2 separate regions of the Homo sapiens genome follow, and region 1 is linked to region 2. Evidence: promoter capture Hi-C in human tissues and cell types (Jung and others, 2019). All regions are on one chromosome and are shown on one strand. The core of a region is centred on a gene start or on the middle of the fragment in contact, and the rest is flanking DNA. Distances in the headings are between cores, read along the strand shown.

Region 1 (2,700 bases), core at 33-2,532, 80 kb before region 2:
GCGCTGTGACCAGCAGGTGGCTGCTATGCTCCACATTATAGGGAGTGACCTCCACTGCCACCCTCTCCTCCTTCTCCCTCCTCCTCCTCCCTCCTCCTCCCTCCTCCTTCTCCCTCCTCCTCTTCCTTCCTCCTCCTCCTCCCTCTTCCTCTTCCTCCCTCCTCTTTTCTTTCATCCCTCTTCCTTTCTCCTCCTTCTTCCTTCTCCTTCCTTCACCCTCCTCCTCTTCCCTCCTCCTTTTTTCTCTTTCTCCTCCTCTTTCCTCCTCCGCCTTCTTCCTCCTCCTCCTCCTTCTTCCTACCCCTTCTCCTCCCCCTTCCCCTTTCTTTTAAAAGACGGGGTCTCAGCCAGGCACAGTGACTCACACCTGTAATCCCACCTGTAATCCCTCACTTTGGGAGGCCAAGACAGGAGGATCACTTGAGCCCAGGAGTTCGAGGCTGCAGTGAGCTATGGTAGCACCACTGGACTCCAGCCTGGGCAATAGGGGGAGACTTTGTCTGAGAGAGAGAGAGAGAGAAAATGAGAATCGCACCGTGTCGCCCAGGCTGGAGTACAGTGGCAGGACCATAGCTCTCCAGTGCCTTCTTGAGTCTAGCTAGGGACTTGTCACTTAACCCAACAGATCTATTTAAAACATGAAGTAGAATCATTGTTTCTCACAGAATCAGCTGCCTTCTCAGATCCTCTACAAATGGAAACAGAATCATGCAAAACAGGGAAGGTAAAGGGACAAGAAAATGGTCTTTTTGAAGAGCTGCTCCCAGCCCTGCTGGACAAAATGACCAAAATAGGATCCCTGGTATTAAAGTTCCTCTCATAAAAATCCATTCAGAAAATTGAGGACACTTTGGGAGGCTGAGATGTGAGGATTGTTTGAGGCCAGGAGCCTGGGCAACAGAACAAGGCCCTGTCTCAAAAAAAAAAAAAAGAAAAGATACATATATATATATCTGTACCCAGAGTCAAGACAAGCAATATTTGTTGTCTAAAAACAACTCTGGTTCAGGGTACATCAGTTAACTTTTTTTTTTTTTTTTTTTTGAGATGGAGTCTCGCTCTGTGTCCCAGGCTGGAGTGCAATGGTGCGATCTCAGCTCACTGCAAGCTCCACCTCCTGGGTTCACGCAATTCTCCTGCCTCAGCCTCCCAAGTAGCTGGGACTACAGGCACCCGCCACCACGCCCAGCTAATTTTTTGTGTTTTTAGTAGAGACGGGGTTTCAGCGTGTTAGCCAGGATGGTCTTGATCTCCTGACCTCGTGATCCGCCAACCTCGGCCTCCCAAAGTGTTCAGATTACAGGCATGAGCCCCCACACCCAGCCTTTTTTTTTTTGAGACAAGAGTCTTGCTCTGTTGCCCAGTCTGGAGTGCAGTGGTGCAATCTCAGCTTACTACAACCTCCACCTCCTGGGCTCAAGTGATTTTCTGCCTCAGCTTCCCAAGTAGCTGGGATTACAGGCGTGCGCCACCACACCTGGCTAATTTTTGTACTTTTTGTAGAGACAGGGTTTCACCATGATGGACAGGCTGGTCTCGAGCTCCTGGCCTCAAGTGATTCTCCCACCTCAGCCTCCCAAAGTGCTGGGATTATAGGTGTAAGCCACCACGCCCAGCCCAAGACAGATACTTTAAGAAAGTAAACTGGCCAGGACAGTGGCTCACACCTGTAATCCCAGCACTTTGGGAGGCCAAAGCAGGCAAATCACTTGAGGTCAGGAGTTTGAGAGCAGCCTGGCCAACATGGTGAAACCCGGCCTTCACTAAAAATACAAAACTTAGATAGGCGTGGTGGCAGGCACCTCTAAATCCAGCTACTTGGAAGGCCAAAACAGCATCATTTGAACCCAGGAGATGGAGGTTGTAGCGAGCCAAGATCCTGCCACTGCACTGCAGCCTGGGTGACAAAACAGGGCTCTGTCTCAAAAATAAAATAAAATAAAGAAAAAGAAAATAAAGAAGGGAACTTAGGTTAAGTGAGGTCATAAGGGTGGGGCCCTGATCCCTGATGTCCTTATAGAAAGAGACACCAGGAGTGCACACACACGGAGGGAAGGCCATATGAGGTCACAGTGAAAAGGTGGCCTTCTACAAACCAAGGACAAATGCCTCAGGACAAACCAACCCTGCTGGCACCTTGACTTTGGACTTCCAGTCTCCAGAACTGTGAGAAATAAATGTCTGTTGTTTAAGCCCCCTAGTCTGTGATATTTTGTTACACAGCCCTAGCAGACCATTACATTCAGTCTCTTCTTTGCTTCCCACTGTGTCCTTTCTACCAAGCACCATGCCTAGCACATAGTAAGTACCCCCAAAAAGATGCACAAACATCATCGCCTCCTGTGGGAAGCTGTCCCTCACCCTTCTCCACTCCTTCTCCCCTTAGCTTAAGTGCCTCTTCTCAGCTTCAGTTCCTACACTTTCCACTTGGCTCTTGAAGAATATGTTTTGAGGTCTAATTCCTCTCTAGCAGGTGAAATGTTTGAAGGCAGGGGCTGGGTCTTCCCCAGGGCTCAGCACCAATGGCATGCACCATCAGAATTTTTTGTTTTGTTTTTTTGAGATGGAGTTTCGCTCTTGTCACCCAGGCTGGAGTGCAGTGACCCAATCTCAGCTCACTACAACCTCTGCCTCCTAGGTTCAAGCGATTCTTGTGCCTCAGCCTCCTGAGTAGCTGGGATTACAGGCGCCCGCCACCAT
Region 2 (2,700 bases), core at 164-2,663:
GTATTTTTAGTAGAGACGGGGTTTCTCCATGCTGGCCATGCTGGTGTCGAACTCCTGACCTCAAGTGATCTGCCCGCCTCGGCCTCCCAAAGTGTTGGGATTACAGGCGTGAGCCACCACGCCTGGCCTAATATTCTATATTTTGTTTAATGTTAATTTTGTTCATTGTCTTCTCCCAGTAGCTTTTGAGCTCCAATGTGGGCAGGGTATATTTTCTCCTGGTTTGGTTGTTGATGTATGTACAAATTGATTAGAGTTTGAGTGAATGAATGAATGAATGAATGAATGAACAGACCAAGACCCTCTGAGATGAGAATTTGTTGAGGGCATGACTAAGGAGAGACCCTCCTGTGAAGGGCGTTATTACAGTGTTATCTGGGCATGCTCAGTATTAGCAGGCTCCATTGGGAATGGCTTTATGGGGGGCATAAGCATGATCTGGCATTTCCCCCTAAGCATTTTCCTAGAAAAAAAAAATCAAGGCTGGAGATTGGCCCGTAATAAGCAGTAGAAGGGGAAACAAGAAAATGTCCAGTGGGCAGGGGAGGCCAAATCGCAGAAAGCCTCGGGTTACGTCCTAGGCAAGGTATATGAGGCAACGAGAAACGTCCATGGGCGGAGCGTCCTCGGCATTATGTGAGCGGGGTCGGGATCAGGACTGAAAAGGTGAGACTTGGGACTGGGACTTTGAAAAGCTGCTTAAGGAACTGGGCACTGCTCTGAGGCCGTGGGAGAATCCAATTAAGACTATCAGGGGCTGGCTGGCGTGGTGGCTCACGCCTGTCATCCCAGCGCTTTGAAAGGAGGCTGAGGAGGGAGTATCTCTTGAGCCCCAGAGATCAAGACCATCCTGGGTAACATAGTGAGACCCCCATGTCTAAAAAAAATTAGCCAGGCGTGGTAGCGCACGCCTGTAGTCCCAGCTACATGGGAGGTATCGCTTGAGCCCAGGAGGTTGAGGCTGCAGTAAGCCACGATTGCAGGACTGCGCTCCAGCCTGGGCGACAGAGTGAGACCCTGTCTCTTAAAGAAATAAAAATAAAAAAGTCAGAAGAATGGACACTGGGAGTGGACGAAAGGTAGGGTCCATTGCTTGGTGTTGGAAGTGTCGGAAGCAAAGCATAAAGAACCTGGGGGCTTGTCTCAGGAGGGCGATGACAGCCAATGAAAAGCAGTCATGGGCGTGGCGCTGTCAAACTTCGAGGGGCGGGACCGAGGACACAGAGCCGGGGCGGAGCCCAAGGTGAAACCAATGAGAAGCCTCCGGGTGGGCGGGGCATCGGCCTAAGGCCAAGGGCGGAGCCAATGAGAAGCAGCGCCGCGTTCCCGCTGCCCCCCGCCCCCGTGGGGCGCGCGCCGGAGCCACGGGCAGCCGTTAGGGGCGGGGTCTGCAGCCGCCCGCGCGCGGCTCGCGCCCTCCCCTTTGTGTCGCCATGGCGGCGGCAGCGGCGACGAGAACGGCGAGCGAGGGGTCGAGCGCGGCCGGGGCCTGAGGAGGCTACGCGACCATGGTGGTAAGGGTCCCACGCGGCCGTCAGCCTGTCCGTCCGGATGTCAGTCTGTCCGTGCGCAGCCCCGCCCCGCGCGCCCCGCCCCCGGCCCCGCCCGATCCCGCGGCCTGTGCTTCAGCCGTGGTCCCTCCCGTCCTGCGGCCCCATCCCGGGTCCCAGCCCGTACCTCGACCCCGCCCCCTAAGCGCGCATCCCCGTCTTCCACGCCCTGGATGGGGTGACAGGGACCTAGGGCCTGGGCTGGGAGGAGGCGGGGCTAGTCCAGGAAGGGACCCGCGCCACCCAAGTGGCCCCTGCAGGGGCCTCCTGAGGCTCCTGGGTCCTTCCCCAGCTCCCATCCCAGCACCTTCCTCGGCATCCTTCTGCCAGCCCTCAGCCCTCCCCGGCGGAGCCCCCTCCTCCTCCCCACAGCCCCTTTCTCATTCCCGAGCCCCACCCCCCACCCGCTCCATCCCCAGCCTGACCCTTTTCTTCTCCTTCTCCCTCATTTTCACCCTATCCCAGTTCCTCTCAATCCCCCCCGCCCCGCATCAGTCTGAGCCTTTGCCTCGTCTCTCCAGCCACTCCTTCCTTACTCCACCCCAACAGGCCAGCACTGTACCTCCCTTGATCCTCGGGTCTGCTCCATCTCCTTGTCCTCATCCCCCTCCCCCACCATTTCCCTCTCCCACCATGCTGCTCCCGCTCATTCATCCATTCATTCCCTCACTTAGCAGACATTCACTGAGACCGCCTCTGTGCAGGCCCCACGCTCCAGGCACAGAGAGAGTCAGCTCCCATCCTGCCTTGGGGAACCTTATGGGCTGGAGGGGGACAGACCCTGAGGGTGAGACCCTGAGGGTGACTGGGGGTTGCAGGGACATGGAGCAGGGAGACGCTACAGCCCAGTGAATCTGTCTGGCAGCTGGTTAATTTATTCATCAGATTTTACCCAGTCCCTGCTGCGCGCGACTGGGCTGGCACTGGGGACCCAGAAAAGAATCAGGAACAATCATGTCTGAACACCAACTCAATGCCCAGCTCTATGCTGGGGAGCTCAGTCTGGGGCCCTCCTTCTGGGAGGCCGGTCATAGTCCAATGAGAGAGATGAACTTGTCACCACCAGTGCCATCTCAGAGTGATCAGAGCTGTGAAGGGAGAAGCTCTGGTCAAGGCATGGAACCTGGGATGGGGGAACCTCAGGGGATGG

The links. Contacts are between HindIII fragments. The study calls those that stand out against the background at their distance.
Region 1: a contact is called between a fragment that was not itself captured here and the fragment with the promoter of ARHGAP33 in region 2, in 8 of the 25 tissues and cell types used here (H1 embryonic stem cells, adrenal gland, bladder and 5 more).

Annotation. Positions count from the first base shown.
Region 1 is chr19:35,693,987-35,696,686 of GRCh38, forward strand. No RefSeq gene overlaps it. Among named protein-coding and RNA genes, the nearest start is that of ZBTB32, 9.2 kb to the right of the region's middle. The HindIII fragment of the contact is 5,192 bases long and covers 1-2,700 here.
Region 2 is chr19:35,774,151-35,776,850 of GRCh38, forward strand. ARHGAP33 (Rho GTPase activating protein 33) reads left to right here and starts at 1,414. Exons shown (of 21, transcript NM_001366178.1): 1 at 1,414-1,514. The coding sequence starts at 1,509. RefSeq lists an enhancer at 906-965 and a silencer at 1,196-1,675. The HindIII fragment of the contact is 39,613 bases long and covers 1-2,700 here.